Linked DNA regions of Homo sapiens: region 1 is linked to region 2. Evidence: promoter capture Hi-C in 16 types of primary human blood cells and fetal thymus (Javierre and others, 2016). All regions are on one chromosome and are shown on one strand. Each heading gives the region's core, a stretch centred on a gene start or on the middle of the fragment in contact. The rest is flanking DNA. Distances are from core to core; before and after follow the strand shown. Region 1 overlaps MTRF1 (mitochondrial translation release factor 1). Region 2 holds the start of KBTBD6 (kelch repeat and BTB domain containing 6).

Region 1 (5,367 bases), core at 701-3,200, 83 kb before region 2:
TATTTCTAATCATTAGGTTTCATAATAGCTCTCTCTTTTACCAGGAATTTTTATGTGGTGGGAAGGGCCTGGATCAGCTAATTCAGAGACTGCTTCAATCAGCAGATGAAGAAGCCATTGCTGAACTTTTGGATGAACACCTTAAATCAGCAAAATAAATACTAACTTATTATTATTTATGATTATATAAATGAAATGGACCTATATCAAGAGGCAGACTGAAGCTTGGAAATCATTATGAATATTTGTAAATTACAGCTTTAAGAACACATTACACATAAATATATGTTTTGTAATTAATCGAAGTCACATTTCCTGACCTAAGAATTTATTTTAGGTTTCCTGTAAAGTACAATCCAACTCATCAAGTAGAAAATAAGCATGCATCATTGAAAAGAGAAAGTATTGAGAATTGATTGTGTCATTTAGGACAAGTCACTTGTTCTCTTTATATGCCTTTTTTCCCCAGCCATCTATGAATTAATTTAAATATATTTTTAATCTACTACTTCAGGAAAATATGGTAAAATTTAGTAAAATATGAATTTTAGACTTCCTTATAAACCTTTTATTTAAATACAAAGTACCTTGGCCTATAGTGGATGCTTATGCCTGTAATCCCAGTGCTTTGAAGGGCCAAAGGGGGAAGATCTCTTGAGGTAAGAATTTGAGACCAGCCTGGGCAAAATAGACCCCATGTCTACAAAAAAACTCAAAACATAAAGAAAAACCATAATACTGTTAATCATGTTAAAGTTAAGACTTAGACTGCAACTTTTAAATAAAAATTATGAAGAATATGAGTCATTCAATAACAATGAGCATCTGGGTACAGACAGTAAAGCCCTTTGATTGCTGTATGAATTCCACACTATATAAACAATAAGCTGATATTTTAAATAGACTCTTTGTTTGACTTCTATTTCTTTTTTTTTTTTTTTTTTTTTTACTCCTGGCAAGCTGGAGTAAAAAAGTTATTGTTTGCTGGCTTAACTTAATGAGCATCAATAGATGTGTAATATGAGTAATACACTGAGATCAGTTTTGTGCAGCATTATATAAAACCCAGTCCTTACCTTAAAGAGCTTGCAGTTGACTGAAGGATTTAAACATGTAAATCACCAAGTAATACAGAGTGGCATGATGTATTTAGTAATTGTTCCGAAGACGTTTCAAGTTAAAAAGAGAGGAATGGCTGGGCACAATGGCTCATGCCTGTAATCCCAGCACTTTGGGAGGCCGAGGCGGGCAGATCACTGAGGTCAGGAGTTCAAGACCAGCCTGGTCAACATGGTGAAGCCCCATCTCTACGAAAATACAAAAACTAGCCGGGCATGATGGTGGATGCCTGCAATCCCAGCTACTCAGGAGGCTGAAGCAGGAGAATCGCTTGAACCCAGGAGGCGGAGGTTACAGTGAGCTGAAATCGCGCCACTGCCCTCCAGCCTGGGTGACAGACCAAGACTCCATCTCAAAAAATTAAAAAAAAAAAAAAAAAAAGAAAGGATTATTATTTTAGTTACTCCTCAGAGAAGAGTTTATGTGCCAAGAAAGACTAGTTAAGAGTTTTAAGGCCAATGGAATTGTTTGTATGTAAACATTAAAGAGGAATGTTTTCCCTAATTTTTATTTTGAAAATATTCAAGCATAATGAAAAAGTCTAAAATAAATTATTTATTTATTTATTTTTGAGATAGAGTCTCGCTCTGTCACCCAGGCTGGAGGGCAGTGGCGTGATCTCGGCTCACTGCAACCTCTGCCTCCTGGGTTTAAGAAATTCTCTGCCTCAGCCTCCCAAATAGCTGGGATTACAGGTGTGTGCCACCACGCCCAGTTAATTTTCTTGTATTTTTAGTAGAGATGAGGTTTCACCATCTTGGCCAGGCTGGTCTTGAACTCTTGACCTCATGATCCACCCACCTCAGCCTCCCAAAGTGCTGGGATTACAGGTGTGAGCCACTGCGCCCAGCCAAATTATTTTTTTAGAGACAAGGTGTCACTCTTGCCCAGGCTGGAGTGCAGTGGCATGATCATAGCTCACTGTAACCTTGAACTCCTGAGCTCAAGCAATCCTCCCACCTTAGCCTCCCAAGTAGCTGGGACTACAGGCATGCATCACCATACCCAGATAATTTTTTTATTGTTGTAGAGATGGGGTCTTGCTATGTTACGCAGGCTGGTCTTGAACTCCTGGCCTTAAGTGATCATCCTGCCTCAGCCTTTCAAAGTGCTGGGATTACACATGTGAGCCTTTGTGCCCAGCCACAATAATTTTTAAGAAATAGTTCAATCAGGAGAGGTCTGAGCAAGATGGCTGAATGTAGAAACCTTTACCAATTGTCCCCCAATGCAGCAACACTGATTTAACAACTATTTACACATACAAAAAGCACCTTCATGAGAACCAAAAATCAGGTTAGCAATCACAGTACCTGATTTTAACTTCATATCACTGCAAGAAGGTAGGAAAGATAGTTTTGAATTGGTAACGCTGCTCCTTCCCCGTTCCCCTAGCAGCAGCAGGTGCTGTGCCCTTGAGAGAGGGAAAGCACAGCAATTTTGGGACCCTGTGTTGAACTCAGTGCTGCCTGGTCACAGCAGAAAGCAAAACTGAGTTAAACTCAGCAGATGCCCATCCACAGAGGGAGCATCTAGACCAGCCCTAGCCAGAGGGGAATTGCCCATCCCAGCGGTCAGAACCTGAGTTTCAGCAAGCCTCAACACTGTGGGCTAAAGTGTTCTAAGGTCCTAAATAAACTTGAAAGGCAGTCTAGGCCACAAGGACTGTAGTTGCTAGGTAAATCCTTGTTCTGTGCTGAGTGCAGAGCCAGTGGACATGGGACACCAGTTGGGTGGCTAAGGAAGGGCTTGTGCCACCCCTCCCCCAACCCCAGGCAGTGCAGCTCACAGCAATAAAAGTGACTCCCTTCTGCTTGAGGAGAGGAGAGGGAAGAGTAAGGACTTTGTCTTGCATCTTGGATACCAGCTCAACCACAATAGGACAGGGCACCTGACAGAATTGTGAGGCCCCCATCCTAGGCCCTAGCTCCCAGACAACATTTCTAGACACACCCTGGGCCAGAAGGGAACCCTCTGCCTTGAAGGGAAGTACTCAGTCTTGCAGGTTTCATCACCTGCTGACTAAAGAGCCCATGGGCCCTGAGTAACCAACAGCGATGCACAGGCAGTATGCTGTGGACCTTGAGTGAGACTCGGACATGCCAGCCTCAGGTATCAGCTTGGCCATGGTGTAGAGCACCAACGGGCTCTTGGGGTCCCCAGGTCCAGGCTCTTGGATAGCATTTCTGGACCTGCACTGTGCCAGAGGGGATTTCACTACCCTGAGGGGTGAGTTCCAGGCCTGGCAACATTTGTCACAGCTGACTGAAGAGCCCTTGGGCCTTAAGTGAACACTAGTGGTGGTCTGACAGAATTCGCCATGGGTCAGTGGTGGCAGAGGCCATAGGGAGAGGCCCCTCTGCTTGTGGAAAGGGGAGGGAAGAGTGTGAAGGATTTTGTCTTGTGGTTTGGGTGCCAGCCTAGTCACAGTAGAATAAGACACAAGGTAGACTTCTTGTAAGGTTTTTACTGCAATCCCTGGCTCCCAGACAGCATCTCTGGACCTGCCTGGGGCCTGGGAGAACTCACCATCCTGAAGAGACGGACACAAGCTTGGCTGGCTTCACCACCTGCTTATTGTAGAGCCTTACGGCCTGTGCAAACATAGGCAGTAGCCAGGTGGTGGTTACAATGGGCTTTGGGCAAGACCCAGTACTATGCTGGTTTCAGGTCTGCCTCAGGGCAATTACACTGGTGGTGGCCACATGGGTGTTTGCATCACCTCACCCCCAGTTCCAGGCGGCTCAGCACAGAGAGACTCTGTTTGGGAGAAAATAAGGAAGAAAACAAGAGTTTCTGCCTGGTAATCCAGAGAATTCTTCATAATCTTATCCAAGACCACCAAGGTGGGACTTCTATGAGTCTGCAAGAACCATAGCATTACTGAGCTTGGGGCCCTAGTCCCTCTGTATACCAGGAAAGCCTTCTCAAGAAGGGCAGGCACAGATTGCAAAGCCCAGATTGCAAAGACTATAATAAATTCCTAACTCTTTATTGCCCAGACAAACATCTACAAGCATCAGCACCAGCCAGGAAAACATGATCTCACCAAATGAACTAAATAAGGCACCAAGGACCAATCCCAAAGAAAAAGAGATGTGACCTTTGAGACAGAGAATTCAAAATAGCTGTTTTGAGGAAACTCAAAGAAATTTGAGATGACACAGAGAAGGATTTCAGAATTCCATGAGGTAAACTTAACAAAGAGATTGAAATAATTAAAAAGAATCAAGCAGAAATTCTAGAGTCAAAAATGCAACTGACATACTGAAGAATGCATCAGAGTCCAGTCCCTTAATAGCAGAATTGAACAAACAGACGAATTAGTGAGATTGATAACAGTCTATTTGAAAATACACAGAGGAGGCAGGGCACTGTAGCCCATGCCTGTAATCCCAGCACTTTGGGAGGCCGAGGTGGGTGGGTCACATGCAGTCAGGAGTTCAAGACCAGACTGACCAACTTAGTGAAACCCTGTCTCTCCTAAAAATACAAAAATTAGCTGAGTGTAGTGGCGCATGCCTGTAATCCCAGCTACTTGGGAGGCTGAGGCAGGAGAATCACTTGAACCCGGAAGGCGGAGTTTGCAGTGAGCCAAGATCACACCACTGCACTCCAGCCTGGGCAACAAGAGCGAAACTCTGTCACACACACACACACATACACACACAATACACAGAGGAGAGGAAAAAAGAATCAGAAAGAGTGAAGCACAACTACAAGATCCAGAAAATAGCCTGAAAATGGCAAATCTAAGAGTGGCCTTAAGGAGGAGGTAGAGAAAGAGATGGAGGTACAAAGTTTCTTGAAAGCGAAAATATCACAGAACTTCCCAAACCTAGAGGAAGATACTGATATTCAATACAAAAAGGCTATAGAACACCACGCCAATCTAACCCAAAGATGACTACCTCAAAGCATTTAATAACCAAACTTCCAAAGCTCAAAGATAAAGAAAGGATCTTAAAAGCAGCAAGAGAAAAGAAACAACATACAGTGGAGCTCCAGTATGTCTGGCAGCAAACTTTTCAGTGGAAACTTTACAGACCAGAGAGAGAGTGGCATGACATATATAAAGTGCTGAAGGAAAAAACTTTTATTCTAGAATAGTATATCCAGCAAAAATATCCTTCAAGCATGAAGGAAAAATAAAGACAGAAAAACAAAAGCCAAGAGATTTCATCAACACCAGACCTGTCCTAAAAAAAAAAGCTAAAGGGAGTCCTTCAATCTGAAATAAAAGGAGGT
Region 2 (4,936 bases), core at 69-2,568:
CAGAGGGAATGGGAAGAAGAGTGGCTTGATTGTTTTGACTACGGTGGACAGTGATGAGAGAGGAAGACAGTGGCAGGGTTTCACAGGAGGTGAGTCCGAAGCGGAAACGTGTTAGGTGTTCTCAGTGACTTCTAATGTCTGAACTGCACGGGGTAAGTAAAGGTTGAGTGAATGACTAGAAATAAAGTCAGCTCTGATGGAGAGGCAACTTCATACAAGCAAGGGGAGAAATGCTTGAGCCACTGGGTCTAAAAGGATGCTAAATTACCAACCAGGCCTCTGGCTTCCATTGTGTTTTGGGGTGAGGACCCCCTAAAGCATGTCTCTTCTTTTGTGTAAAAAAGGGAAAGGGGTACTGAATATTGGAGAGACCAAGTGGGAGAAGTGGCTACAGAGGACTTCAGGTTTTGAAATGCAGATATGGAAGGAAAGTCTCAAAGTCAGGTGACTGGAGGTGGTCTCCTTTTAGTCATGGCAAATAAGGACAGGCAATTGTGAAAAAGCCAGGGATCTAATTCCAGCGATAGCCAACCAATCCTACAAACCCTGAGTTATCTTTTGGTACCAGGGAGAGGCATAGTGAGTAAAAAAAAAAAAAAAAAAAAAATCACTTCTAATGGATACATACACTAATACAAGATGTTAATAATAAGGGAACTGTGAAGTGGGGAGAGATATATGGAAGTTCCCTGTCCCTGCTGCTCAATTTTTCCGTAAACCTAAAAATAAAATCTAATTTACACACACACACACACACGCCCCTAAAAAGGGATCTCTGCTGGAACTTGCAAGGTTTTCTGTTTTGGGGGGTTTTTTGTTTTCCTACAGGCTCATAATTTCAAATTAGTGGTGCTTCCTTTTTTTTTTTTTAATAAAGGCTGGAAGAAAACTTATCGAACCTTTATAATTCTAAGAACTGAGTAATTATTCTACAAACCAACAAATATTTATTAACAGCGTCCTATAACCAACTCATGTAATCTTCACACAATCCTATGAAATACTACTGTTCACGTCTTACAAAAGAAGAAACAGTTCAAAGAGACAAGTCAAACAATACATACTAGAACGAGGCGACTACTCTGGATTCCAAAACCACAGTTCCAAACCACAAAATCGAATCTAGGAAAATTGGCGCTCTCGAGTGTCGTCAGCTAAAACAAGGAACACCAGAGAAGGATCGCGATATTACACAAACTACTACTCCCGACATGCAAAGCGGATTCTTTCCCTCGGTCTCGGCCCGGGAGTCCGAGAGTCCCAGCAGCCCTCGGGGCGCGAAAGGCAACCTGGGAGCGGTAGTTCTCCTGGGCGCCTAGCATTGTCGCCCACGCTGCAGTAGCGGCTTCTGCGGCTCCAAGCCAGCGGGTCCTGTGAAGGCGAGCAGACGCGGAGAAAGGACGCGGGAGTGAGAGAGGGTGAGTCAGCCACTGTCTAAACGATAACGGGAGGCGGTTCTGCGGGGTAGGGTTGAATTCAGTAAATGGGCTCGTGCTGCTGTCTCTTCGGAGACGCTGCTATCTTAGCGTCAGCGAGGGAAGGTTGAGGAGGAGCCAGAGCCGGGTCCTGCAGCGTTTCTCGCCATCAGCGCCCGTCGCCATCTCCACCATGCAGTCCCGGGAAGACGCCCCGCGCTCTCGCCGCCTAGCCAGTCCCCGTGGTGGGAAGCGGCCCAAGAAGATTCACAAACCCACAGTTTCGGCCTTTTTCACGGGTCCAGAGGAATTAAAGGACACGGCCCATTCTGCAGCCCTGCTGGCACAGCTCAAGTCCTTCTACGATGCGCGGCTGCTGTGTGATGTGACCATCGAGGTGGTGACGCCTGGCAGCGGGCCTGGCACGGGTCGCCTGTTCCCCTGCAACCGCAATGTGCTGGCCGCGGCATGTCCCTACTTCAAGAGCATGTTCACAGGTGGCATGTACGAGAGCCAGCAGGCCAGCGTGACCATGCACGATGTGGACGCCGAGTCCTTCGAGGTGTTGGTCGACTACTGCTACACGGGTCGTGTGTCTCTCAGTGAGGCCAACGTGGAGCGCCTGTACGCGGCCTCCGACATGCTACAGCTGGAATATGTGCGGGAAGCCTGTGCCTCCTTCTTAGCCCGACGTCTTGACCTGACCAACTGCACCGCCATCCTCAAGTTTGCAGATGCCTTTGGCCATCGCAAGCTGCGATCCCAGGCCCAGTCCTATATAGCTCAGAACTTCAAGCAACTCAGCCACATGGGTTCAATTCGGGAGGAGACTCTAGCAGATCTGACCCTGGCCCAGCTGCTGGCTGTCCTGCGCTTGGATAGTCTGGACGTGGAGAGTGAGCAGACAGTGTGCCATGTGGCAGTGCAGTGGCTGGAGGCTGCTCCCAAAGAGCGGGGTCCCAGTGCTGCAGAAGTCTTCAAGTGCGTGCGCTGGATGCACTTCACTGAAGAAGATCAGGACTACTTAGAAGGGCTGCTGACCAAGCCCATCGTGAAGAAGTACTGCCTGGACGTTATTGAAGGGGCCCTGCAGATGCGCTATGGTGACCTGTTGTACAAGTCTCTGGTGCCAGTGCCAAACAGCAGCAGCAGCAGTAGCAGCAGCAACTCTCTTGTATCTGCAGCAGAAAATCCACCCCAGAGACTGGGTATGTGTGCCAAGGAGATGGTGATCTTCTTTGGACACCCCAGAGATCCCTTTCTCTGCTGTGATCCATACTCGGGGGACCTTTACAAAGTGCCGTCACCTTTGACCTGTCTGGCTCACACTAGGACTGTCACCACTTTAGCTGTCTGTATCTCTCCTGACCATGACATCTATCTAGCTGCTCAGCCCAGGACAGACCTCTGGGTGTATAAACCAGCTCAGAATAGTTGGCAGCAACTTGCAGATCGCTTGCTGTGTCGTGAGGGCATGGATGTGGCATATCTCAATGGCTATATCTACATTTTGGGGGGGCGAGACCCTATTACTGGAGTTAAGTTGAAGGAAGTGGAATGCTACAATGTTAAGAGAAACCAGTGGGCATTGGTGGCTCCACTGCCCCATTCTTTTTTATCCTTTGACCTAATGGTAATTCGAGACTATCTCTATGCTCTCAACAGTAAGCGCATGTTCTGTTATGATCCTAGCCACAATATGTGGCTGAAGTGCGTTTCTCTGAAGCGCAATGACTTTCAGGAAGCCTGCGTCTTCAATGAGGAGATCTATTGTATCTGTGATATCCCAGTCATGAAGGTCTACAACCCAGTTAGGGCAGAATGGAGGCAAATGAATAATATTCCCTTGGTCTCAGAGACCAACAACTACAGAATTATCAAGCATGGCCAAAAATTGTTGCTCATCACCTCTCGCACCCCACAGTGGAAAAAGAACCGGGTGACTGTGTATGAATATGATATTAGGGGAGACCAATGGATTAATATAGGTACCACATTAGGCCTCTTGCAGTTTGATTCTAACTTTTTTTGCCTCTCTGCTCGTGTTTATCCTTCCTGCCTTGAACCTGGTCAGAGTTTCCTCACTGAAGAAGAAGAAATACCAAGTGAGTCTAGCACTGAATGGGACTTAGGTGGATTCAGTGAGCCAGACTCTGAGTCAGGAAGTTCAAGTTCTCTTTCTGATGATGATTTTTGGGTGCGTGTAGCGCCTCAGTGAAATGCACAGGATCAACAGGGTTTGTTGTAACTAGATTGAAACACTAAGTTGTTTTTACTGTTTTGGAAAATATCTTAAATATCCTTTTTGTTCCTAAAGGAGAGGAAAAGTTGATTAACTTCTGGTTTGGTTTAGAAAAAGTAATGTTTGAAATACGAAGGTAATTTAATGTTACAAATTTTAACACTCAAATCAACCTTTTAATAATTTTCTGTGCTAAGGGTCCAGTATTTATTTGATTATTTAGTATGTTTATGTTTCATGACACTAATTTAGTCTTTTGATACATTTTACATTCTGTTTACTGCCACAAGCACTGTGGCAATAACTTTTGAATTTTAATTTTTATAATAGAAAAATGATTAGGAATTGCTAGATAGTGTTTTGAAAGCATATCTTTTTCTTCAGAACAATGTAGACTTCCAAAATGGTTAACCTAAGGGGTCTTTACAAAATGTGTTATAAGTTAAACATAATTTGGGAAGTTTTACTTTTGTTTTCTTCTATGAAGAAAAAAATGCAGGCTGGGCGCGGTGGCTCACGCCTGTAATCCTAGCACTTTGGGAGGCCGAGGCAGGTGGATCACCTGAGGTCAGTTCAAGACCAGCCTGGCCAACATGGTGAAACCCCGTCTCTACTAAAAATACAAAAATTAGCTGGGCGTGGTGGCATGCGCCTGTAATCCCAGCTACCCAGGAGGCTGAGGCAGGAGAATTGCTGAAACCCGGGAGTCAGAGGCTGCAGAGAGCCGAGACTGGGCCACTGCACTCCAGCCTGGATGACAGAGTGAGACTCCGTCTCAAAAAAAAAAAAAAAAAAAAAAGGAAAAAAAAAAAAGAAAAAAAACCATATGTGTATTAGGGTGACTGAGTGGTGACTTCATTTATAATAATACAGAGAATAGCTATAAGCTCATTGACAGTAAAAACAACAAACCAGGATTCTACTGTTTGAAAAGAAGTTTCGTTTTAATTTTGGAATTTAGAATGTGTATTTGCAAAGTCACCAATTTTCATCTAAAAGGTTATATTCTAGTTGTGTCACCAAATCATCAAAAAACCTTAAAAAAGAAGTAACTTGCTTTGTAGGTTTGTATTGTTGATCTAAACCTGATACATGCTTCATTTAATCAGGAATAATCCTTTTTTTTCTGCTGGACATGTATAAATTTCACTGGATTGTATAAATTTTTATCTATTGCCTTAAACATTTACATGATTCTCAATATGTTTTAGCTGTACAGTTTTGGTGTTCATCTTAGAGGATTCTTCAGCAGAAGTGATATTTCTTTACTGTTTTGTGA

The links. The method cuts DNA at HindIII sites, captures the fragments that hold promoters and counts their contacts. A CHiCAGO score of 5 or more calls a contact.
Region 1: a fragment that was not itself captured here is called in contact with the fragment with the promoter of KBTBD6 in region 2 in 1 of 17 cell types (neutrophils); the score reaches 6.2 in neutrophils.

Annotation. Positions count from the first base shown.
Region 1 is chr13:41,211,906-41,217,272 of GRCh38, reverse strand. MTRF1 (mitochondrial translation release factor 1) reads left to right here. Exons shown (of 10, transcript NM_004294.4): 10 at 45-904. The coding sequence ends at 158. The region is part of intron 3 of KBTBD6-DT (KBTBD6 divergent transcript); the gene reads right to left. Among named protein-coding and RNA genes, the nearest start is that of KBTBD7, 20 kb to the right of the region's middle. The HindIII fragment of the contact is 3,447 bases long and covers 227-3,673 here.
Region 2 is chr13:41,129,184-41,134,119 of GRCh38, reverse strand. It overlaps KBTBD6 (kelch repeat and BTB domain containing 6), which reads left to right and starts at 1,318. Exons shown (of 1, transcript NM_152903.5): 1 at 1,318-4,936. The coding sequence starts at 1,609. The coding sequence ends at 3,633. KBTBD6-DT (KBTBD6 divergent transcript) reads right to left here and starts at 1,192. Exons shown (of 4, transcript NR_120423.1): 1 at 1,065-1,192. RefSeq lists enhancers at 1,016-1,255, 1,616-1,665. The HindIII fragment of the contact is 7,724 bases long and covers 1-4,936 here.